Regions from separate parts of the Homo sapiens genome. Here regions 1, 3, 4, 5 and 6 are each linked to region 2. The links are contacts of gene promoters, found by promoter capture Hi-C in blood cells and fetal thymus (Javierre and others, 2016). All regions are on one chromosome and are shown on one strand. Each heading gives the region's core, a stretch centred on a gene start or on the middle of the fragment in contact. The rest is flanking DNA. Distances are from core to core; before and after follow the strand shown.

Region 1 (4,271 bases), core at 957-3,456, 130 kb after region 2:
ATTATGACTGGGCCAGGTTCTTTGGGAACCCTGGTGGAGTGGGCTGTCACATGGGGTTCCGTCTCCCTGCACATACTGGGTACCCAGGCCGCTCCTGAGGAACAGTCCAGCAGCCAGTGGCCTGGGAAGGGTGTTGTCTCTAGGGGCCTCTCAGCAGAGTCCTTGGCCCCAGCCTGGGCTTGGCAGGTTCCTGGTCTCCCCAGGACACCCCCACTTTCGCTCCTCCCACCCAGGCAAGGAGATCTCTTAAGGGGTAGCGCTGTTCTTCACCTTGGCGAGAACCTTCTTCTCTTTGACCCGGCGGTTCTGAAACCAGATGGTAATCTGGCGCTCCGAGAGGCTGGTGGCTGCCGAGATCTTGCGCCTCTTGTCCTTGGTGATGAACTTGTTAGCCGCATACTCCCGCTCCAGCTCCCGCAACTGCCCCTTGCTGTACGGAATGCGTTTCTTGCGGCCGCGACGAAAGGCGCAGGCGTCAGGAGGGTGCTGCCCGCTGGAGTCTGCGCGGCGTGAAAGGGAGGGAGGAAAAGGCATGGTCAGATACCCACCCATGCAGACCCAGGCCTTGCAAGCCCCAAGCTAAGTCATCTCACAGGTGCACACAGGTCACCCTACAGGCGCACGTGCAATCCTGTTCCTCCAAAGCATACCAGGACAGCACCCTGGCTTCCGGCTTGTTCTCTCACCACCGCTCAGCCTTGGCTCCTGAAGGCCACCCTCACCCATCACTGCTCTCACACCCGCGAATCTGCAAACATACCCACACACCACACACAGTCAGGCCTTTGCCCACCATCACATACGTCCAGTCTTCATGCATTTCCAGACTCTTGGCCACTCTTTTAGATTCTACAGGCAAATTCTGGAAACACGTTTCTGCCCCCACTCCCAATACATGCGCATACACACACACACACACACATTAACCCATCCCAGTGCACACACATATGTCACGGCTGCAGGAAACCTAAATTTTTCTTTGGAAATTGGAAAACTCATCTAATAGAAAGTGAGAGGTTGTATTCTCTACAGTACATCCAATACCTTTTTACCCATCTCCCACACCCACTCCCCACGCACCGAATTGAGAGTTATTTAGCTTTTGTGTAGAATTAGTTTGGAATTGTGCTGGGTAGGGACACCCTGATCCCCACTCAACAGCAAAGAGATCTAAACCTCTCAGACATGTTGAAAGGCTGGTCCCAGGGCCTCCTGGAGAAGTGAGGTGGCCTTCAGGCTTCAGATAGCACCCAGCTCAGGCCCCTCACACTGACCTCCATCCAGGCCCTCCAGCTACTCAGACCTCCTTCAGAGTCCTAATAACCAAGGGAGGAGCACCAAGCTCATCCTCACCAGCTCCAAGTCTCCCTCCTCCTCCTCCCAGGGAAATGCCATTGGGACCCACAACCCCAGGCTCAGAGACAAGGGGACCCAGGGTAATAGAGGTACCTGCAAATGCTGCCTTCCAAAAGGGACCTGGTGGGTTCTGTTCTCCCTGGCAACACATCTGGCTGTTCCAGCCACCAGCGAGAGCCCAAGACTGGTAACTGTCCACAGGCAACAGGGAGTCATGTCGCGGTTCTCCAGGAGCACCCAGAGTCTGCACCACAGACACGTCCAGGTAACTGGCCATAGGCTGGTAGGTTCCCGGATATCCCGGATAGAAGGCAAACTCAGTGGGGCGGCTGGGGTACTCTTCCCCGGCCGTGGGAGTCTCCGCGGGGTACGCGGCCAGGGTGGCTGCCTGGGCACAGGGTTTCAGCGAGCTCCGGGACACTCGGCAGGAGTAGTACCCGCCTCCAAAGTAACCATAAGGCACGGGAGCTGGGGACGTCCCCTGGGGCACCCCAGGGCATGGGTGGCATTGCTTTGGCGGCTCCGCCGAGCCTGGCAGATCCAAGGGGGCATAGTTGACAGCAGGCATCAGCGTAGGCGCCGCTGGGTGGCTGGTCAGAGGGGAGTGGGCGACCAGATTCCGCCCCCCTCCCGCTCCCAGCAAGCCTTCGATATCCTTGGCTCCATCCAAGGTGGCATAATTGCCGGGCTCCATGGAGCCGAGGGTCGGCTCATGAGGTGCGGGGGCGGGGAATCTAGGGGGCACCCAGCTCGCTCTCCCCACCCAGGCCGGGGGAATCCAAAGCGTTTTAAATCGCTCCCAGCTCGCAAGTCGCCTGCATTCGCTCAGCACGGCCGTCTTGACGCAAGAGACGCAGGGGCCCGGGCACGCGCGCTGATTGGCTGCGGCCTGGGGGAGAGAAGCTAATAAAATCCTAAAGGCAGAAACTGCGAAAATACTTTACCCCAGCTTATTCTCTCTCTCTCTCTCTCTCTTTCTCTCTCTCTCTCTCTCTCTCTCTCTCTCTGTCTCTGTCTCTCTCTCTCGCTCTCTCGCTCTTTCTCTCCTCTCTCTCTTCTCCCTCTCTCTCTTCTTTTCCCTCTCCACTCCTCTCTCTCTCATTCCACTTAAAAACAACAAGAGAGAAAAGGAAGGAGGTGTCCTTTCGCTGCTTTCCAGTTTGCAGAGTCTCATTTACACGTCCGGGGGGAGGGGAGGCGTGGTGGGCGGAGGAAGAGGGGACGAGGAGCCGGGCCCCACCTCCTTCTCCTCCTCTCCCTCCCTAGCTTTCTGTCTCCTGCGCTTTGACAGGTTTAACGAGAGAATAAAAAGCTCTCTCTATAAAGTGTCCATCTCCTGGGGGGGAAGGGGAGTCGGGGGTGGGGCTGGGAGGCCGCTCCCGGCCTCAGAGGAGAACCCGGGAATGCGCCTGTGTAAGAGGAGGCTGGGAAATGGGGGTTAATAGGTATTTCTGGCAGCCCCTGGCTTTGGGTCCTGGGTACTAGCACCCCAGTTCATTCCCGGTACCCTTCCTGTCCCAGATGTCCTGGAATGAGCTGCTCCGGGCCCCAGGGAGGTGCCCTGGACGCCCCTTACCCAGGGACTCGCTACTGCCCAGAATGCTCTGGAGGCCCTGATTCGGGTGAGGCTGAGGGAAGAGGCGGGAGACACGAACGTAGACGTAGAAGACATGCGATCTGGATGGAACCCAGGACACTCCACTTCCGGACCTGAAGGGGAAATGGAGCCTCTAGAGTGGCCTGTGGAAGGGTCTGGATTTCCCTTTAAGTAAAGACATACGGAGGGACGGAGACCCACAGGACTTGAGGGAGGGACGGGGAGAGGGAGAGATGAGACTCAGGGACAGCAACACAAAGAGGGAAAGAGAGAAGCTGACAGAGCGGATGGGACAAAATCTTGTAAAATCCTGAAGTGTCAGTCAGAAAAGAGAAAGAAGAGAGGCACTTTCCCCCTTTTTTGGGATCTAAAGAAGTCTGAGGAAGCCAAGCCTGGCTGACTGCCAGAAACCAGCTGCGGGAGTTCTGGACCCCAAGAATACAGACGCCTGTGTGGAGATGCCAGTCTCCCTGCCCTGCAGTCCTCTCCCTATGGTCTGCAAGGGGCCCAGGAAACTGTCCCTGATACTGGCATACTCCCACACAAGCTGAGTACCCAGAAAGCCCAAGACCCCTATCTGCCTCCTGCAAGCTTTAAACTTCCTTACAAGGAAAAGGGAATGGAAGGGGAAACCCCAGCCACTGGCAGAATTGCTTGAGGCCCCTCTGTTGGGGCCTAATGTGCAGTGCAATTCAGAAGAATCAAACGGTTTGTTTCACAAATCTGTCTTTAGAGGTTTTCCGCTTCCTTTACTACCCCTCCCAAATCAAATCCTTCTGTCTGCTTTTTCTAGAACTCCCAGTTTTTCTGGAGAAGACAGGAATGTTTCCATTCTACACGAGGGTCTTGACAATTATATGGAATGGCTTACCCTAAACTCTGGGCAGACTCAATCATAGCCTCTCACCAACCTGACCTTGAACTTGAGCCACTTTGTGGGAAAGGGCCCACAGGCAGTAGTGTACATCACTCCTAATGAGCATTGCTATAATTGAAGACACCAAGCACGAAATCTTCACTAGATCGCATTTGAAAACAATATGGAAGAAAAGGGAGGAGATGTCTCTTCAGTGCTTTCCAGTTTCTCACCAGAGTTTCTTGCTTGTCTAATTATGAACTGCAGAAATATCCAGACTTTTACCTAAAGACTAAGAATTTTTCACCAATTTTTACTTGGTAGATGATAGATATGTAGGGCATGTCCACAGTTTTAGTTTCCACTAGGCAAACACCCACACATGCACATTTATTCATCCTTGTACAGTAGAGGCATTAATAGATCCCTAAATTTAAAAAATAATAATAGTCATAGTCATGC
Region 2 (4,405 bases), core at 1-2,500:
CGGGGGAGCAGGACCCAGGCGTCCCGGCACCCAGCTCACCACAGCTCCAATCCTCTCTACTCCAGATGCCCACATTCAAGCTCGATTTCTGCACCCCTTTCTACTGCATCCCCCACTTCTGCAGGCAGCCAGTGCGCCCGGCTTTGTCTCTTGCTCGCTCCTAGTGCCTCACCCTTGGCTGGGCTCAGGCGGCCGCTCGCCCCGGGAGGGAGGAGAGCGGTTGCACTTTTGCCCCGGAAAGCTCCTTTTACTGTTCACCCCTTCTTTGCTAGCGACAGTCTCAAAATTTCAGGGGTAAGCAGGACCCTTCCCCACATTATATGAACCCCATCCTTTATCCTAAAGCTGGTTCAGCTGCGCTAATAAAAACCTAAGCCGAAGCTGGAAACAAATTATTAAAAATACCCCCCTCTTAACAGAGAGACCCTTTTTGGCTCTGTCTACGAAGCTATGAGGCCCCTCTTAGATACTTCTCCCCCTTAGAAAAATGAATCTATATTTAGGGTAAAGCCAAGCTCTCCTTGTCCCCCCGATCCCACCCCAAAACGCAGAGAAGGAAAGCCGAGAAGACAAAAAAGAGAGAGAGAATTACCATGGCTGATGTGAAGCTTCCTCATCCAGGGGAATATTTGCGGAGTCTGCCCCTCGGGCGCGGCTGTGGAGGTGGCCATGGGCTCTGGCTGCGCCCGAGCTAGGCTGGGGCTGCTTAGCTGGCTTGCCGCTTCCTCAGGCTCCGAGGACGCGCTGGCCTCGTCTATTTCGGTGAAATTGGCGCTGGAGCTGGCTGAGGTCGCCTGGTCGGAGGGGGACGAAGCAGAGGGCTTGGCGCCGTGGCTGTCGCCGTTGGTGCAGGGCAGGGACTCGGGCGAGGACAGGGAGCAGCTCGAAGCCGCTTGCCTGAAGCGGGGCTCCTGGGCGGGCGCGGGGAAGGCGCGCGAGCTCTCGCCCACCGCCCCAAAGTGGCTGGAGGAGGCCGAGGAGCGGTTGACGCTGAGGTCCATCCCATTGTAATTGTAGCCGTAAGAGCCGGTGTGCATGGCAGCGGGATCCCTGTAAGAGCCGCTCAGAGAGCTGCCACTGCCATAATTTAGCAACTGATAGTCCGGGCCATTTGGATAACGCCCCGAGAAGGAGTTTACAAAGTACGAGCTCATTTGGGTGATTTTGGAGGGCTTGATTTGTGGATCGTGGTCGTTATAACCCTGTGCTTCACGATTTATGATGTATTAATGAATTATAGCGATGCACTGTACTTCGTTTTGCTATGTATGCGGCCAAATATGGGGGGGGGGTTGGAAGGGGGGTGGGGGGCGTTAGGGAATCACGTGCTTTTGTTGACCAGTCGTAAATTCTCGCTGATGACCTCAAGAGGTAATTCATGCTCTATGGTTACAAATAATGACGATCCGAGAATCGTTAGGGCCGATTCAATGCGAGCCTCCGAGAGAGGGGGAAAAAAGGAGAAGGGGGAGAAACAGAGAGAAGGTTGGCTTTGGCCTCTGAGCAGAGCGCGCCACCTCCCGGCGACCGACGGGAGCGCGGGCGTGAGACCGCCATGGCGGCGGGCGGCTGCCTCCCTGCTGGCTCCCTGCAGGCTCCCTGCAGTCGCCGGGAGAGAAAGAAACCCGGCCAAGGCTCAGCCACAGGGTTGAGCCTTTTAGAGCAGGGGTTGGGCTTTTTACCCACTTTCTTGTGGGTGGGGTTAGCCTCTCTATTTGGTTCTTTCTCCCTACATCATCATTGTCGTTATTATTTTAACTTTGGATGAGAAGATCAAAGATAGAGTTGCTTTTCCCTTTCTTGGGCTTTGCAAGTCTCCGAATTGGAGGCGGAAATGGGGGAAGGGTTGGAAGTTGTGTGTGAAAAACAATTATTGCAACGGGTTTTCCCCAGGAGCTTAGTCCGGCCTGCATCCTGGTGGAACTGCTGTTACCGGTCCACAGCGCCCAGGCCGAGCCGGCAGGGCTGGGCGGGAGGCTTGAAAAAGAAGGAGAAGCGTTCACTTCTCCTGGGCCACTTGGAAGTTCGAAATCCCCTTCCGGACCTCCTTGGTGGTCCTTAGCCCAGGCGTGGGGAGTGACAGAGCAGGACAGGGACCCCAGAAACCGAGCACAGCTGGGGCTAAGCGGCCTAGTTGCCGAAAAGACTGCAGCGGCCACCGCGTCTGCTGCTTAGTTTGAGTAGTAACATGTGTCTGAGAGTTTGTAAAGCGGGATCCCTTCCCCTCCTCCTCGGCTATTGCATTCGGAGGCCCCACTACAGGTCCCTCACTCGCAGCTAGGCAGTTTGAGAATTTGCCTGGTGGCAGCCGCCTTCCCGGAAAAGGGGTTCCAAGGACCCGCATGCTTTGCTGAGCACGCTGGGCGGCCAGAGACCGCCGCAGCTGGTCTCCTATTAGGAGGGGACTATTTTCTTTAAAAATAAGAAAGGAAGCGAGAGGGCGGAGGAATAAAGGAAAACAGTGACCGCAGCTTGCCTTCTGGGTGCCGGTGCAAGCAGAGAGAGAATGAGCCATTCTGGGTTGAGAGGATGACACTAAAAGCCCCATCACCTGGCCTCCTGCCCTGGGGTCTCCAAGGAGCAAGGGAAAGTTGTGGCCTTCGGCCTGTGCCTGGCTGGTGGCTTTACATTCCCCTACTTGAGGCTGATCTCCTACTTGAGGCTGATCTGCTACTTGAGGTGGGAAGGGGCACCTGGAGCCTTCAGCTGCAGGGTGAGAGATACCCAGTGGCCCCATTTTTCAGTCTCCAGAGCCACAGGCCAGGAGCGGAGGGCCAAGGCTGGCGAAAAAACCTGGCCATGTGGACGGGCCAAAGACCAGGGGTCGCTGCGAAGGTGAGGACAGAAAAGCGCTGCAGAGGCCCCCAGACTATGGCTCCGTCTCCGCCAGAGAGCTTTAGGGGCCTCAGTGGCTCCCTTAGTGCTGTGTATACACGAGGAAAGGCTAGAGAATGAGAGGGACACAGCACCTCTCCATCCCCCAAGTCTGCACGGGGAGAAGCGGCTGTGAGCCTCAGCACCAGGGAAACGCAGCGCTGGGGCCTGGGCAGGACTGATCGCTCCAGCCTTTATCTCAGCTGTAACTTCCCAGTCGAACAGGGCTCGCTTCGGCGGGCCAGGGCTCTCGCCTTTGCTGAAGAATTCTGGCTCAGGAAAGATGGAGAGGCTGGGGGTTGAGGAGAGAGGAAAAAATGGCAGGGGAGGATTGGAGGTGACCGAGCGTCGAGTTTTCACATCTTTATTATTGTTGTTGTTGTTGTTATTATTATTATTATTATCATCATCATCATCATCATCATCATCGAAGTATTTCACGTCCAGAGCTAAGACAAGACTACAAACACAACACATAGAAAATTAATAAAATAGAACTTTGTTTTCTTCTGAGGCTCCTCTTCTTACTTCTAGGTAGTATGTGCTCCTTCCAGTGGCTTTGGGGAGGGGGTGGGAGAGACGACAGGTCTGGGATCAGGGAGTCTTCAAGGCCCCCGCTGAGGGGACAGCGAATCTACCATTGAACCGTGCACGGGGGACATGGACAAAATGAGACGCGACAGGGACAAGAGCATTTTGCTCTGCTTCCAGGAAACATCAAGTGAGTCCGCTCCTCAGTTCTCACCAGGAAGCCTGATCAGGCTGAGGCGAGTTCCTCGGGAAGGAAGGGCGCGCGGGATGCTGGGTGGGCTCGAGTAGTGAGGCCTCAGAGCACCCGCCGGGAGCTGTGCGGGCGGGGGCGTCCAGGAGAGCGCTGGGCCCCGCCTGTCTGCGCCGGAGAGCAGGTCTCCTGGCTCCCCCACCCGAGAGCCTTCCTTCCCGGGTCTCTCTGACGCCCTCGGCTCCCCACAGGCCTTTCCCCTCGCGTCCTCCCTCCCTTTCCAGCACCTTCACTCGGCCTGTTTTTCTTCCTCCTCCTCGGCACTGAGCTGAGACGCGCTGAGCAGTTTGCTCTCCTTTTTCCACTTCATGCGTCGGTTCTGGAACCATATCTTGATCTGCCTCTCCGTCAGGCACAGGGCGTGCGCGATCTCGATGCGCCGCCGCCGCGTCAGGTAGCGATTGTAGTGAAACTCCTTCTCCAGCTCCAGCGTCTGGTAACGTGTGTATGTCTGGCGGCCTCGCCGGCCGCTGGGCCCAAAGGAGGAACCTGTTACGCAGAGTGGAGATGCTGAGGCCTGCGGTCACCGGGCCCAGGACCCCCTCCCCTAGTCGACCCTCGAACACAGACTCCAGCCAGTACCGGGATGCCCTCTATTCTGCCGGCTCCCTTCCCCCGTTTCGCACTCCTCCAGCGCCCCCTCCAGATTCCCTCCTAGTCTCCTAGGCCTGTGCCGTCTGTCTAGACTCTAGATGGGGGAGGGGAGGAGCAGTTTGAACTCCCACCTGAGCCTGGGGGGAGGGGCTGGTC
Region 3 (3,951 bases), core at 667-3,166, 160 kb after region 2:
GACGTTTCTCTGAAGGGAAAGTGGGCATCTGTGAAGGGTTAGAGGCACATACTTCAACTTTCCCTAGCACAAGAGTGGAAATCCATACTCCTTGGGGAGGGACTTTGTCACTGAACCTTAAGAAAATGGTTACTGGACTGAGCTTGGTTACTTATGCCTGTAATCCTGACGTTTTGGTAGATGGAAGTGGGAGCATCGATTGAGGCCAGGAGTTCTAGCCTAGGCAATGTAGTGAGACTCTCATCGAAAAGAAAATAAAAAAAAGAAGAAAGAATCTCGTGGCTGTCATTTTTAATGTTGCTGGTGTGCAGGGAGGCTGTTTTGACTCTTATTTCCATTCTTGGGCCACCGGCAGAGCAGGGCAAAGCTATGAGGTTACATAGACCTGGCTTAGACCCCAGTCCCATTCCCCAGCAGCTTCAGGCCCAAGCAACGGTCTCCATCTCCCTGAACACAGTCTCCTTATAGGTAAAATAACTGCAGAGTTGATGCTGGAATTAAATCAATGCAGTGGCGAGCCCAGCGCTGCAGAGCCCCGTGCTTAGTGACCAAAATAATGTCCCGCCTGCCTCATCTTCCTCTCGGATTTTTGCCAAGGCCAAACTGCGCGTGTCCCAGAAAAAAACCCTCGGACACTTGGCCTCTGCCCTGTCTCAGCCGAGTGACTAGGATGACTGGGAAGTGAATCACAGGAAAATCACCCAAGCCCACTCTTCTCCACAGCCGGTGAGCAGAAGGAAGGAAGCAAAGAAGGAAGGGAGGAAGGGAAGAAGGGAGAGTTCAGTTCCCTTTCGTCGTTCACACAGTGGTCCTCCACACCAGGAAACCTAAGGGCTCTGTGGAGGGCCAGGTGCCGTGGCAGCAACACTCCTCAGGGCCTGTTTCAGCACCCCATTTACGTGGCACATGAAAAATTCAGGATGAACGCCCTGGCTGAAAGCTCTTCCTGGGTTTGGGACATCAGAAGACCTTCCCGGGATGGGCTCTTGTCTCTGCAGTAGCTATGACCTGCACATAAACCTGTTTCCTACACTGTAAAATTGGCGTAACCACCATTCCCTCCCAGTCTTTCTCTGGAGTCCTAATGGGAACAGTGACGGAATGAAAGTGACCACGCTGGAACCCGAAGCGCTGTTCCCCTCCGTGGCTTCACACTGATCTCCACACTAGAATTCCGTGTCTGCAGTTCAAGTTCAAACTACTGTGGTCGGGGAAGGGCTACAGAGATCTCGCTTGGCCGTGGAGTCACCGGCCCCGTCCAGTCTTGCTTGGGACACATACTGGTTTACACTCTCTCGGGTTCAGTTTCCTCATCTGTAAATGGGGCTCGTATCCCCCTCATAAAGTGGTTTGGGGGATAATAAAGCTTGTAAAAGCGCTTTGCCCCAGTGCTTGGCACATAATACGCGCTACGTTAACAATGTCGCGTACACGCCCGAACCGGAGGAACCCCATTCCACGCTCCTTCTGGAACCGAATTCACCTCTGAGGCTTTGGGGCTTCAGAGCCGGAGCCGCTTGGGCAAAACCAGCAGAACAGCGAGAGGGAACGGGCTGGTCTAGCCCTGCCCTGAGCATTTCTACTGAGACCCCCGGTCCTGCTTCTTCCAGCCTCTGCTGGATTTCTCTCCGACCCCTCTGGAGCGAAGCCCTTTGGCCCTGCGTTGCATGCGGCACGGTGCGGGTTCGGGCTCTGCGCTGGAGCCGGGATGCCCTCCGGCGGAGGGTGCGCGTAGGCGGCGCCTGGGCGTGAGCCCCGCCTGCAAGGCTCAGCGTCGGGGAAGCACTTTTCTCGTCGACCCGGGGTCTTTTTCCGCCAAGGAGCTCGGGGCTCAAGAACTCGGGACTGGGCTGTGGGCGGGGCATGGTTTTCCTCTCTGGGCGTCCTAATCTCCAATTTCAGGCAAATTCGCTAGGAAGAACCTTCCCGAGCGCGCCTTCTCCAACAGGACCTCCAAGCCAGCCTCACGCACGCAGGCCTGGCTCTCTCCTGCAGAATCCCCACCTGCCCTATAACTACCCACTTCAGATATGGGGGAATGGAGGAGATATTCCAATCACGCCATCTACCTACAGTTTCCACGGCCCCTTCTGTTGAATGGTATTTTCCTTTAGGGTCCCTAGAAGCAGAGCAAATGAAAAGGCCAGGGGGAAAAAAAAAAAAAAAAGAAAGAACCGGTGAATTGGCTCTGAGCCCAATAAACGGTTCCTCTTTCCTTCTCCGGTCCTTTCCCTTCCAACAGAGCGATTGAGAAATCATTTCAATAATCAGCAAATCGGCTGGGAAATGGAGAACCAGAAGGGAATGTCCTATCCAACAGCGCTTTTTCTTCTCTCAATAGAAGCCCAGTCTTTCATTTAGATATGAATATAGCTACTGTGCATTTCTCCATTAATAAATATAAATTTCCAAACTAGGTGGTGAGGGATATGAATTTCCATGGTACATTGGGCCCTAGAGACACCAAGAAGCTTCAGGTCATAAGGGGGTCTATTCAGGCTATGTCCAAGCACAACCAAATTATGGCATTAAAAACAAGAGGTCTTGATTCAGATCTTTCACGTTTTAATAACAGAGGGGGATGCTGCTGATATAGAAAAGTGATTGAAAATATTTGTAAACATATACTTCTCACTGGACCTCCAGTCATGTTGGTGGGTGTGGTAGACAGAATCAAGTACGTCAACTAGCTGTTTTCTGGTTTAGAAACAAAAAATACCCCCAGCCCCACCCCCACTCTGGAGTCTTTGCTTCTCAACTACGAAATGGAAAAAAAAGAACTCAAGTCCCATTTAGACTGTGGGAGCTCAGCCCATGAAGGGACTGTGGGAATTGACATGGAGAGTTTGGGGTGGAGAGGTGGAAGGGTGGAGGAAATGAGATCGGCAGCAGACACTGAGTCAGAGGCCTGAGACTAAGGCCTGGCTCTGTGTCCTTGATATCCCCAAGCCTCAGTGTTCACATCTATAAGATGAGGATAATATTGATCTCACAGAACTGCTGTGAAGAATCAACCACATAATATATGTGACGATGGTTTTTCATTATCAGCCTTTCCTTGGCCTGGACCAAATTGAAAGGAGACTGTGGGGCCAGGCAAGGTGGCTTGGATCATGCCTGTAATACTAGCGCTTTAGGAGGCTGAGGCAGGAAGATCCCTTGAGACCAGGAGTTTGAGACCAGCCTCAGCAACATAGTGAGACTCTATATCTTAAAAATAAAATAAAATAAAATAAAATAAAATAAAATAAAATAAAATAAAATTAGCCAGACATGGTGGTGCATGCCTGTAGTCCCAGCTCCTCAGTGGGGAGAGTTGGGAGGATCACTGAGCCCAGGAGGTCAATGCTGCAGTGAACCATGATCTAGACACTGCACTCCAGCCTGGGTGACAAAGCAAGACCCCGTAAAAAAAAAAAGAAAGAATGAGGAAGAAAGGAAAAGAGAAAAAAAGAAAAGAAAAGAGACCGTGGCAAAGAAGGCAAGGGTCCAGCTTGGGCCCAGCCCAGGGATGGGTATGAGCATCCCCATGGCTACTTGATGCCCTGTCACGTGGGTTCAGCTGGCTTAGTCTCACCCTCTGCCAGATCCAGGAGGAAGTGAGAATCCATTACAGTGGGCCTGTCTCAGCTCCTGTTTGCTTTGGCCACAGCGTGATGGTGTCTTGCTGGCTTTGCCAACAGGATTTAGGTGTTTGCTCTCCCGCCTGGCATGGCTGCTAAGGCAGCTGGCATTCTGCTCCTGCTTATCATGCTGGCTGAGACTTCCTGCTGCTGCTGCTTCCCCTTTCTCAGATGGATGGGGTCCTATTTTATTATCATTGTCACAAGACTCCTATGCTTGAGAAAGCAGGGTGGTGAAAAGAGGCCACAGACTTTCCCTTTCAAATGGCTCCCCAAGAAGTACATACTCAAGGACTAAGATGAATCAGGAAGTACGCCAGGAAAAGAA
Region 4 (4,005 bases), core at 1,109-3,608, 130 kb before region 2:
TCTCGAAGCGCTCCAGGACGCAGGTGGCACGCTCAACGCGGGGAGGCGCCACCTACAGGACAGAGGAAGACCTGCAGCTTGGGCTTGAGATTTCAACAGTCTGTGGCGGGGGCTGATGAGGGCGGCCCCTCCTCCTCCTGGAGTAATAATAGTCCCTGACATTTATCGAATGCTCTTCTCGTGCCAGACACTGTCCTGAGCACTTGACATGTATTAATGATTTTAAACCTCACAACAACCCTATTAGGTAGGTGTTATTTTCATCTTCATTTTATGGAATAGAAAACCACAGTTCCAGGAGAGAGAGTAATTTGCCCCAAGTCACCCAGTTAGGAAGTGGGAAGTGGAGACCCCGACCCTGAGTAGGCACTAAGGCGGGTGTGGTGGGATGGTTAGAGTCGGGCGCAACTCTACTCATGGTTCACAGCATTCAACTCTATGGGCCCTCAATTCTGCAGCTTTGGTTTACCATTTTTTGAGACTCGCTTACTCGTCTGGAAAGGAAATCTTTGCTAAGGTAATCATAACCTTGTATAATTTTTAAAGAGATGGAAAATGACAAACATCGCATATTCTCACTTATTTGTGGGATCTAAGAAAACAATTGAACTCCTGGAGATAGTGGAAGGATGGTTACCAGAGGCTGGGTAGTGGGGGGCCTGAGGGGGAGGTAGGGTGGTTAATGGGCACAAAAAAAAAAAAAATAGAAAAAACGAATAGGACCTAATATTTGATAGTACAACAGGGGGACTATGGTCAATAATACTTTAATTGTACATTTTGAAACAACTAAGAGTATAATTGTATTGTTTGTAACACAAAGGATAAATGCTTGAGGGGATGGATACCCATTTTCCATGATATAATTCTTACACATTGCATGCCTGTACCAAAATATCTCATGTGCCTCATAAGTGTATACACCTACTATTTACCCACAAACATTTTTGAAAAACCAAGGCGAAAAAGTGGGCACAGTGGGGCAGGGATGCTGGAGATTGTGTATCTCTCATCAGTTCATTTTTTCAGTTATATAGATGAGTATGAGAGAGGTAAGGGACCCAACCACGTGCACAATCTCAGTGACAGCGCAAGAACTGGAACCCAGATTTCCTCACTCCCAGCCCAGTGCTTTCCCCCCGTGCTACATTCATTCTTTAATCATCCATTGACAGGATGGATTCTGTATGTGGGATGGAAGGTAATCACACACAGTGTGGCTTCAGAGGCTCCAGGCCCACCCTCTGACCAAAATATACATTTCCTTTTTTTTTTTTTTTTTTTTTGAGACAGGGTTTTGCTCTGTTGCCCAGGCTGGAGTACAGTGACGCAATCTCGGCTCACTGCAACCTCCACCTCTGGCTTCAAGCAATTCTTCTGCCTCAGCCTCCTGAGTAGCAGGGATTACAGGCACACTCTACCACACCCAGTTAATTTTTGTATTTTTAGTAGAGATGGGGTTTCGCCATGTTGGCCAGGCTGGTCTCAAACTCCTGGCCTTTAGTGATCCGCCTGCCTCGACCTCCCAAAGTTCTGGGATTACAGGTGTGAACCACCATGCCCGGCTCAAAACATACTTTAAAAAAAACCTGGTGGCTGTTGCGTAAAATTCCACCATTAGTGGCTCATTTTATTCACTAAGACTTTGATCCTATCCACTTAGGACCAGTAAGGCTTTTAACTGTTGGCCATCATTTCATGTGTATGTAATTGAGTTCTAAAGCAGCGCTACTCAAAGTGTGGTCCACAGACAGCAGCATCAGTATCATCTGCAAGCTTGTTAGAAACGCAGGTCATGGCTTTCACCCAGACCTACTGAGTCAGAATTGCCCTAGTTCTCAAACTTCTGTGTATGTGCTTAACTTCTCATCTGAAGAGCTTATGAAAACACAATTTCCTGAGACAACTGTTCCCCACCTCAAACCCAGAGATTCTGATTCAGCAAGTCTGGGGAATGCACCCCAAAATTTGCATTTCTAACAGGCTCTCAGGTGATGCACCTGAGACCAGCTACTGCTGGTCTGGGGACTATACTTTCAGTAGGACCTAAGGAGTTCCTGATAACAGATATTGGGGAGGGAGAAGAGGGAGAATGAGCACACTGAGGTAGAAGAAGGAAAGGTTATCACCAAGGGTGCAAAGGGTACAGAATATGAAGCCTTGGAGTCAAAAACTGCTGAGGGTGTGAGTGCACAATCACGTCTTTCCATTTGAATACATTCAAATATTTAGATCCTTAAGTGATTCAATACAATGCATGCATGTTTGTTAGCTGGATTTACTGAGCCTATGGTAAAATCTGCTCTTGCATCACCTTTTGCTGAGCCCTGCCTGTCTCAGTTACAAATGAAAATCTTTCCAGTCCTCTCTGACCATCAGTTAGTTTTCCAATTTCATTCCAGAGTTAACTGCACTGTAGCAGCAGACAAAACTGGCCCGATGGCAGGAATACTGTTCCCCGATGGTATCAGAGCCATCTGTATTTATGTTTGCTGTGTGACTGTCACTTGTATACAATCATGCAGAGACTCTGATATTAAGACTTGGCCTGGAAATCACCCCCATGGCACAGCTCTGGTGGAAAAGGAAAAGGGGATTCAGTGGCAACCAGATATCAAACACAAATTACATTGCCCTTGTACCAAAACAGGCATCTTTAAGAAATCATGTCTTCTGGTCTTCCTTTGCTATACTTCAGGTAATATGGTACCCAGAGGAACCCAGAGAGATAACAACCTCTTCTATTTGTAAAGACCACTTGTGAAGGAAACTCCATAACCTCCCTGTGGTGGAGTGTATTATTGCTCAGCAAACATTCATTCTTCTCTATTTCCCTCCGTTGGGGGAGCAAACTTCCCCACTCCATTGATGATGGGTCTAGCCATGTGACTTGTTTTAGCCAATGGAATGTAAACAGAGGCTTTAACTCTACTTGCTTGGTTAAGCTTGGTCTCTTGCACCTCTACCCTTTGCCACGAGAAGAGCATGCCCTTGTCACTTCGGCCTGAGTCCCAGAATGAGAAGTTACATGGAGCAGACCTGAACAAGATTCACAACCTGAACAGAATCACTGCAGCCAATCCACAAACCTGTGAGCAAAAAATAAATGTTATAAATTTCTGAGATTTTAGATTAGTTGTTATGCAGCATTATTTTAGTAAAGTTGACTGATACACTCCCTCAGGTACCTGTTCCACTGAACTTTTGCTGCAAAGTTCTTCATTGTGTCTAACCTAAATCCGTCATACATTAATGTAAAGATCTATCTCATTTGTGGTCCAAATGAGGGATCACTAGATTACATCTTTGATTCTAAATGTCCAAATCTAGCTTGAATTGTTTACTATATATTTAGATGAATAAAATAGAGGTGCATTCAGGGAATTATTTGCATTTACAAAGTATCATCTATGGTTTTCCTTATTGGAGCTATTAGAAGGTGGGTCCTTAAGAAGTGATCGTCTTCAGGAACCAGAAAAGTAGCAATGGGAGAGATGAGAGTTTGGAAGCCTAATTAAAATATTATAGAACTGAGCCAGGTGTGGTGGCTCACACCTGTAATCCCAGCACTTTGGGAGGCCGAGGCAGGCAGATCATGAGGTCAGGAGTTTGAGACCAGCCTGGCCAACATAGTGAAACCCTGTCTCTACTAAAACTACAAAAAATTAGCCAGGTGTGGTGGTGCACACCTGTAATCCCAGCTACTTGGGAGACTGAGGCAGGAGAATCTCTTGAGCCCAGGAGGCAGAGGTTGCAGTGAGCCAAGATCGCACTATTGCACTACAGCCTGGGTAACAGCAAGATTCAGCCTTGAGGAAAAAAAAAAGTCATAGAACTGCCTTATTTTCTCTTATCTTTCTTTCCTAGCAGTTTATAAATTATTTATTTCCTAGCAATTTGCAATTATTTTATTTGCCTATTTTCTTTCTTTTTATTTGTCTGTCTCCCCCATTAGAAAGTGTTTCCATAAAGGCAGGAACAATGTTTGTCATATTCACAACTTTA
Region 5 (4,058 bases), core at 458-2,957, 160 kb before region 2:
AAGAACTGCACATCAAAAATGCTGAAGGAATGGATTTCATTGCAAGCCTCTGAAAATAAAAAGGAATTTTCTACCAAGCCTAGACACAAAACTGAAGTATAGTTTAATAAGCTTATAAAATAGGTTTCCTCTCATCAAATGACAGATACCAATAAAAAGAATCAGTTTATATATTTCAATGCAAGGGCAGAGTTAAACTTTTTGCCACAGTCCCTTCTTTCCTAGAAACCAAAGACAATTACAGCCTTCCTTCACAAGCCTAATATTAAACCAACAACAGAGGGAAAGGCTGGATTGTTTCTTCTTAGACACCCAGATAATTCTCTTTTACCCTGCAAATAGTTTTCTACCCCCAAAATTTAGATTTATTCTGATCGTAAGTAAAACGGATTTTGGAAACCTCACCTCAAAAGAAATATCTAGCTGACAGCTTTTACATAGAAGCAATCCAGAATGGAAATAGTGCTACAGACAGAGACCAAAAGGACTTGCCAAATATTTGATTAGGAGGCATTTATACCGAGATAACAAGGTAATGGAGATATAAAACCAATTAAATTGAGAGAAACTGAAAAAAAATACTGCTTGCCAAAAATATGACCTGCCCAAAGCAGGCCGTCTGTTAAATATGTGTCAACTATGTCAACTTAGATGCCAAAAGGCTTAATTCTGAATAGTTTCCTCCTGGGAGCCTTATGCGACTGCAGATTCCAGGCCTCTGTCCTCCCTGGAAGGTTAGTTACAGGAAAGCAAGTAAAAGTGACTTCCACCACGAAACCCAGCAGATGAAACTGCCCGTTAGCAACGTCTCTTTGTGACATCTCTTTGGAGTGTTGGCAGTGTGTGTTGAGTGTTGACGGGGATGGCCGGAACTCTTTAAACCACCGCTTAGACACTGTAGTTGGAAGGTGAACACACCACAATGGGAGTTGGAAGGTGAACACACCACAATGGGGGCACTTCTAGAAAAGGAGGAAATCCCATACTGAGAATGAGCCTGCCTTGGGGTGGGTGAGACCCCTAGACGTCTGCAGGGTGATAAAGGGAGGGCTGGGGTTTTCGCACTGACAAAAACTCACGTCAACCACCTGGCCTTGGCCCATGGGGATCCCATGAGCCCCTCGCAGCCCCCTGGAGAGCCTCGGGGACCTCTAAGCAGGAAGGTTTGGGGTCTTCTGTGAGAGGTGAGGAAGTCGTGGCTGGGGAAGGAGGGGGACGGGAAACCCTACAGATGTAGGGCAGTCCTTTGGAGAAAGGGACAGGTCGGAGACCAGGCAAGGTGGCATGGGGGACCAAGAACCTGGCCTGAGGACTTTAGAAGCCGGGGAGGTGAAGTGGAGGCGTGGAGGTGCCTCAAGGCAAAAGAAGATGTGGGACTCCAGGGAGTGAAAGGGGCCCTGAGGTGAGAGGATGGAAAGCTGGCTCTAGGGAGTTGAGGGCTCTAGAAGCCTTAAGGTTCTAGAAGGAGGTGAGTGACGAAGCCGTAAAGAAAGCCTGGCCGTGGGAGGCCTGGTGTCCCCTTTCGGCCTTCGGCTCAGCACTGGAGGGGGCCTGCGCCAGGGCGTTACCTTCCAGGAGCCAACGGATCTCCTCAGGGAGGGCGGCGGCCTGCATTTGGCTGGGCGGGAGAGAGGCGGGACGGGGCGCGGGCCCTGGTCGGGAGGCGGACGGGCTGGAAGGCGACCCGGCTGCACCGCGAGGCACCTGTACCTCAGCCGCGGTCGCCGCCCGCCCAGCCCGGCCGCGGGGCGGGGCCGTGGGTCCCCGGGCGCGTCAGGAAGTGGCGCGGGCGGCAGGCGGGGACCGGAACGGGGCGCGGGGCGTGGGTGCACGTGGCGCTCACGCCGGAGCCCCACGGTAGAAGGATTGGGGGTGCCGGAAGCACCGCACCGTGCGAGGCCAAAGGTGCGCCCCTCCAGCACCCACCAAAACAAAAGACTTCACAAGGCTCAAAGGACCCACGGCTTTGGACACTCCATCCTAAGCACCGAACAGTTGACCTCACGGTGGCAGATTTGAAAGACCACGGGGTGCCTGAAGTAGGGTGCAGGGAGGCAGAATCCAAGGAAGAGATCCCCGTCAAGCATAGCACCCCTCAATTGCCGGTCCAGTTCACATCTCCATCCCCAGAAAAGAGGGCAAAACTTCGCTCTTTGGGAAGCCACAATGTTGAAAGGAAATGATTAATTCCCAATAAGCAATATAAGGACACCAACATTTGGGAGAATCGCGGCAGCGTGGCAGCAAGGGACACAGGAAACCAAACTGTGCTGTTCTCCCTCAGGATGGAAAGGCCCTGAGGAAAGGAAGGGGTAACACAGGGAGAAAGCTGAGGGAGAGGAGAACAGAGCCCTTTCCCTCCAGGAGCTGCGGAAGGGAGGAAAGTGAAGGACAAAATCACACGGTCTCATTCAAGGGACAGTTGGTGTCAGTGTCCTGGTTGTGACATGGTACTGTAATAGTGCCAGATGTTACCCTTGGGGGAAACTGGGTAAAGGTAGACAGAGTTCCTCTATTATTTCTGAAACTCTCTGTGAATCTATAATTCTCAAAATAAAGAGGTTTTTTAAGTACAATAGGTCAACTGCCATGAAAAAAGTATAAAGTGCTATGGTTGATAAAAGAAGGGAGCTGAATACCAGAAAAGGAGGGAAGAGGCCAGGCATTGTGGCTCACACCTGTAATCACAGCACTTTGGGAGGCTGAAGCAGGAGGATCACTTGAGCCCAGGAATCTGAGGTTACAGCCAACTATGATCACCCCAGTGTACCCCAGCCTGGGCAACAGAGCAAGACCCTGTCTCTTAAAAAAGAAAGAAAATAAAAAGAAGTGCCAGTGTGCATGTGAGTGTTTAAAGGTGCATGTGGTGTTTGAGATGGGCTCTGAAAAACACACCAGACTTTGAAGGGGCAGAGGACTTTCCAGGTGGAAGGACCAGAGTAAAGAAAGATGGAAGAGCCCTCACCAGCTTGAGGAATAGTTAGTAGCCCTCTTTTACTGGATGTTGTAGAAAGACTATGGTTGTCAAGATAAACTGCAGCTCTACTGTGAAGGGACTTGAAAGTCAGAATAGGAATGTTGAACTTAATTGAGAGGGCACTGGGGAGCCATTGACAATTTTTGAGATTGGGAATGACCTAACCAGAGCTCCGGGGTGGTATGTGGCCTCACACATCTCCACCTCTGCCTTTTTCCTTCTTTGTAAAAAATGGCATTTCTATTCTCAGACTCAACCTACAGAATATGTAGAAAAGATTAGGAGTGGTGGGAAAAGACACAGGGGGAAGTGGGTAAAATGGTTTTTACAACAGCCATAAGGGGAATAATGATGGACTCAATCTAGCAGACGGGGCAAGAGCAGTAAGAAGAAACCATCGAGAAGGATGAGTGTGATAAAAGTGCCTGCCTCCTTGTACTGTTTCCCATCCAGAGATACAGCCTCAAAGATGAGGGTGTGATCCTTTAAGGAGTACAGTGCATCCTGCCATCTGAAAAGCAGTGGTGCATTGGTTTCAGTGTCACATGACCCACCTACAAGCTGCAGTAAATTGGGGTGAGGGGACAGAGGCTGGCATGAGCCTCTCTGGGGTATCTGGCTCCTGCTCATCCTCCTTCCTGCCCTGAGAAAGTATAGTAATGGGTGGCTGGGCACAGTGGCTCACGCCTATAATCCCAGCACTTTGGGAGGCCAAGGCAGGCGGATCACGAGGTCAGGAGTTTGAGGTCAGCCTGACCAATATAGTGAAACCCCGTCTCTACTAATAATACAAAAATTAGCTGGGCATGGTGGTGCACGCCTGTAATCCCAGCTACTCGGGTGGCTGAGGCAGGAGAATCACATGAACCCGGGGGGCGGAGGTTGCAGTGAGCCGAGATCAGGCCATTGCACTCTAGCCTGGGTGACAGGGCAAGACTCCATCTCAAAAAAAAGAAAGAAAGAAAGAAAGAAAGTATAGCAATGGGCAGACTACCCCTTTCAGGCTTGGGATCAAGTACCAGGTACCCCCATGGCATTTTTACCAACTTCACCACTTCACCTATAAAATTGTAGCTGCTCT
Region 6 (4,083 bases), core at 759-3,258, 250 kb before region 2:
GTATATTTTGCATTTCATTATGTTATATACTGTGGAATTTTGAATATAAAAATAATGTTTCTAACAATTGAATTATTTAACTCCTCTCATTCCCAAATATTCAAGTAAAATTGATGCTCTAGGAAGATTCACACTGTGGTTCTTGTGGCTTTCCCTTCCCCTTGAGCAATACCAATATGGTCAGGGGTATGTGAGAAGTACAGGTGAAATGGTATCTTATTATATACTATGATGAGCTCAAGGGTCTCAAATGATCCACAGAAAATTAATAATCCAACAATCATTAAATAAAAGCTTCAATTCTCATGTAAATCAGTGAAGCTAAAAAATCCAAAAGAATGGTATAAACTAGGCCCTGAAATCTTAAAATGCCCTCTTAGCTATTGAGCTACGGTTTTTATAAAAAGATCAATAATGATGTCTTCCTGTTCCAATATGGAATTAGTGTCTCCCTAAGTACATTAACTTCAGAAGTATTGAATTACCAAGGAGGATCAGCACCACAATGAAACAAATAGTTGTTCTTTGCAAACTAGTGATTACCAGTACAGAAAACCCACCAAAGGCTGCTAGATACAAAAATGACAAAAGGCAAAGATGTCAGGCCAGAAGATAATGAAGTATGGTAGTCACCCAAAATCCAGAAGGATAACACTCACCCTCATCCTGATAATCTGACAAAAAGGGTGCATCGGATGTGAGGGACAGGCCAAGAGTCCCGCTGTGATTATCATCAGAGCTGTCCTGTCCAATGTCTCCCCCTGAGGGACAAAAAAGACAGAAAATAAGGTTAATCTTTGGGCATCCTTATAAAAGGATACATCCTTATAAAAGGATCTATGTATGATCTCTTCCAGTATTCGAAAAAAAAGTGTATCTTTTACTGGATGATGAACATGGCCACTATCCATTAACATATAGGAAACAGTTAAATAGGTTCAAGAACTGACTTACCTGGATGAAAAATTTTCCACTCAAGTAACTCTCTCACTAAAACTTAGGAACTGTTAGCTTATAGTGGGAATACCTCTTGCCACCAGAAAGAAATTTCTCTATCATACTTAAAATAAAAACATAGCTATATAAATTTATATTCAGCCAGGCATGGTGGGTCACGCCTGTAATCCTAGCACTTTGGGAGGCCCAGGCAGGCGGATCACCTGAGGGCAGGAGTTCAAGATCAGCCTGGCCAATATGGTGAAACCCTCTCTCCACTAAAAATACAAAAATTAGCAGGGTGTGGTGGTGGGCGCCTGTAATCCCAGCTACTTGGGAGGCTAGGGCAGGAGAATCGCTTGAACCCGGGGGGTAGAGGTTGCAGTGAGCCAAGATTGCACCATTGCACTCCGGCCTGGGTGACAACAGCGAGACTCCATCTAAAAAAAAAAAGAATTAAATTTATATTCATATATACTATGTCTCCAATAATTACAACCTTTACCCTGCATGCCTCTATTTCAAATGAAATAGGACTGACCCAAAGGTTTAACCTTCTATACATAATATAATATAGCAAGGTCAATAGTCTTTCTCTGAAAAGTAAGAGAAGTATTATAAAAATAGAGAAAACCTAGACTTTGCTGGACTGTATTCCTATTTGTTCTGCAACGTTAACAAAGTTCTTTCTTTGTAATTCTAGTTTACAGCCTAGGCAACCGACCTCTTAGGAATTCTAAAAGCCCTAAGAAGATAATATTTGTCCTGTAAAATGGCTTTGATAAAAGGTAATGTATATACAATACTGAATTATGCAATTAATGCTAATCTCTTTTGTGTGTTTTCAATATACATTGGATTGTATTCTGTAGAAGTGACTGATGTTATTATGATACTTTAAAAGGTTCAGACAGAAGATGTTAGCTCATTCAGAAACCGGAAGAAAAGGCTCTGTATTGCAAATGGCTTTCCTTAAAATCCCCCAAATAGAGGTACAGTCTGCTAATAAAAGGACACTGACAGCTGCTTATTTCATTTCACAAACATGAAAATAGGATTTTCAACTGAATTTAATATTATCTCAAATACTAATTTCCAAAGGAAATCACCAATGCTAATCTCAGTAAATACTGTAGAGTTTTGGCCTTGGATTTCAACTAGGGAGCTGTGAAACCAAACAACCTACATAGAATCTGTATTGCCTCACTTTAAAGGTTTATTTCCTACAATTAAACTAGAAAGCCAGGGAGGTTATAAAATGATAAAAAGAGAATGGCTGTAGCTTTCTCTTTCCATAAATTAGATGATCATATCTAGACTCTTCTTCAAATGCTGTATGGTAGGTAGATGTCCATAACTGAGTTGAACACCTACAAATATAGGACTTTAGAAATAAACTATAAAGTTTATTATGAAAAAGAGAAATAAAAATTGTAGAAAACTCACACAATAGTCATTGGCCAAAGCCAGAAGAAATACTCTCTTTTATTAGTTTACTTATCAGTATACAAAGTTTATAGCTATGCTTAAAGCATCACTGTGTAATTTCCATAGTAACCAGAAAAATTCTCAAATACTGGACTGAGGATTAAAATGCTCAAATTTTACATCACTGGAAGTCCACTAAAATTATATTATCAACACAATCTAAATGGACTGCCTGGCTAGTAACCTGAAAGTGAGCTGCAAGGTTAAATGGAATTTTTATTTTAAGCCAAATAAAAATCCTTAAAAATAAAAAAAGTACTGGAATTGCCAAGCAAAATTTAACTTTTGTAGGATATACTGAACATTATGTATAAACTATTATTCTGGACTTAAAGTTCTCTGCTTGCTTCAAAAATGTGGCAAATCCACCATTAAAGAAAAAGAACCTAGCCAGGCACAGTGGCTCACACCTATAATCCCAGCACTTTGGGAGGCCAAGGCAGGTGGATGGCTTGAGCCTAGGAGTTCAAGACCAGCCTGGGCAACATGACAATACCCCATCTCTACAAAAAGTAGAAAAATTAGCCAGGCATGGTGGCTTGTGCCTGTGGTCCTAGCTACTTGAGAGGCTGAGACATGGGGGGATCGTTTGAGCCAAGGAGGTAAAAGCTGCAGTGAGCCATGACTGTGCCACTGCACTCCAACCTAGACAACAGAGTGAGCCCTGCCTCAAAAAAAAAAAAAAAGAAAAGAAAGAAAAGAAGAAAGAAAAAAAGTACATGCTCACATTCTAAGTGTTTTAAAAAACATGCAGATCAGGAAGGGCTTTTTTTTTTAGTGAACTTTTTATTTTGGAATAATTTTAGATTTATGTAAGTGTTGCAAAGATAGTACAGAGTTCCTACATACCCTTCACCCAGTTTCCCCCAATGTCAACTTCTTACATAATTGAGGTCTATCTGCCAAAACCAATAAATTAACATTGGTATATTGCTATTAACTAAACTACAGACTCTATTTGGATTTCACAAGTTTTCCATTAATGTACTTTTTCTGTTTTGGGATCCAATCCAGGGTATCACATTGCCTTCACAGTCTCAGTTTTTAAAGTCTTACCCAAAACACCTGCCTGGATTTGGCACTTGCTTTCCTAACTTCAGATGGAAAAGTCACTTCCACGTGATTCCTATGGTTTCTGAGTATAGTCACCCAAGGTGTGCTTTCAACAGCCACCCCTGGTGTCAAACATGAGACAGTTCCTCTGTAAAGTACACAACGACATAGATATACAACTCAATGCAGCAAAACAGAGCCTAGGTCAGTAGTACAAATGGTTGTGGTGCGGGAACATTTAGAAATAAGCTTTACACCCAAGTGCAATTAGTTCCTGATGATGGAGATGTTGTTATAAGTGTTTTTAGTGTCATATCAAGTGACCCAGTTCCCTTGGGCACACACAGAAACAAGGCTATAATACCATATAAATATACACTCCCATGTAATTGAAATGATTACAACTACTGAGGATGCATGGGTGAAAAGTTTTATAGAAGAACAGCAATTATTGTGGTCATTTTGGATTTGTTTAAGAACATCATTTTTCTTTAAAACATAACTGTACGTGTTCTCTGGATTTGTCTATAGCTCTGACAATTGCAGTTCTAAATGGCCACAACTGTAGTCCAGTGGGATCAGACATAAATGATCACAAACTATAGT

The links. The method cuts DNA at HindIII sites, captures the fragments that hold promoters and counts their contacts. A CHiCAGO score of 5 or more calls a contact.
Region 1: a contact is called between the fragment with the promoter of HOXB13 here and the fragment with the promoter of HOXB5 in region 2, in 2 of 17 cell types (naive B cells and total B cells). The highest score is 18.1, in naive B cells.
Region 3: a contact is called between a fragment that was not itself captured here and the fragment with the promoter of HOXB5 in region 2, in 2 of 17 cell types (total B cells and naive B cells). The highest score is 8.9, in total B cells.
Region 4: a contact is called between a fragment that was not itself captured here and the fragment with the promoter of HOXB5 in region 2, in 2 of 17 cell types (activated CD4 T cells and naive CD4 T cells). The highest score is 7.1, in activated CD4 T cells.
Region 5: a contact is called between the fragment with the promoter of SKAP1 here and the fragment with the promoter of HOXB5 in region 2, in 7 of 17 cell types (erythroblasts, megakaryocytes, activated CD4 T cells and 4 more). The highest score is 10.1, in erythroblasts.
Region 6: a fragment that was not itself captured here is called in contact with the fragment with the promoter of HOXB5 in region 2 in 15 of 17 cell types (activated CD4 T cells, total CD8 T cells, megakaryocytes and 12 more); the score reaches 24.7 in activated CD4 T cells.

What each region holds. Positions count from the first base shown.
Region 1 is chr17:48,726,544-48,730,814 of GRCh38, forward strand. It overlaps HOXB13 (homeobox B13), which reads right to left and starts at 2,207. Exons shown (of 2, transcript NM_006361.6): 1 at 1,450-2,207; 2 at 1-500. The coding sequence starts at 2,050. The coding sequence ends at 247. The HindIII fragment of the contact is 3,706 bases long and covers 1-3,542 here.
Region 2 is chr17:48,592,529-48,596,933 of GRCh38, forward strand. HOXB5 (homeobox B5) reads right to left here and starts at 1,251. Exons shown (of 2, transcript NM_002147.4): 1 at 593-1,251. The coding sequence starts at 1,154. The region is part of intron 1 of HOXB-AS3 (HOXB cluster antisense RNA 3); the gene reads left to right. HOXB6 (homeobox B6) reads right to left here. Exons shown (of 4, transcript NM_018952.5): 4 at 3,223-4,144. The coding sequence ends at 3,885. RefSeq lists a silencer at 875-924 and enhancers at 1,181-1,688, 1,390-1,459, 1,689-2,194, 3,237-3,908, 3,966-4,135. The HindIII fragment of the contact is 5,828 bases long and covers 607-4,405 here.
Region 3 is chr17:48,753,336-48,757,286 of GRCh38, forward strand. It overlaps LOC105371812 (a long non-coding RNA gene), which reads left to right. Exons shown (of 2, transcript XR_007065830.1): 2 at 1-1,379. Among named protein-coding and RNA genes, the nearest start is that of HOXB13, 27 kb to the left of the region's middle. RefSeq lists enhancers at 1-199, 252-1,241. The HindIII fragment of the contact is 1,105 bases long and covers 1,365-2,469 here.
Region 4 is chr17:48,457,386-48,461,390 of GRCh38, forward strand. The region is part of intron 5 of LOC101927166 (a long non-coding RNA gene); the gene reads left to right. Among named protein-coding and RNA genes, the nearest start is that of SKAP1, 29 kb to the left of the region's middle. The HindIII fragment of the contact is 1,169 bases long and covers 1,775-2,943 here.
Region 5 is chr17:48,428,507-48,432,564 of GRCh38, forward strand. SKAP1 (src kinase associated phosphoprotein 1) reads right to left here and starts at 1,708. Exons shown (of 13, transcript NM_003726.4): 1 at 1,569-1,708. The coding sequence starts at 1,614. RefSeq lists a silencer at 1,622-1,881. The HindIII fragment of the contact is 9,425 bases long and covers 110-4,058 here.
Region 6 is chr17:48,345,246-48,349,328 of GRCh38, forward strand. It overlaps SKAP1 (src kinase associated phosphoprotein 1), which reads right to left. Exons shown (of 13, transcript NM_003726.4): 4 at 660-761. Among named protein-coding and RNA genes, the nearest start is that of SKAP1-AS2, 53 kb to the left of the region's middle. The HindIII fragment of the contact is 3,432 bases long and covers 293-3,724 here.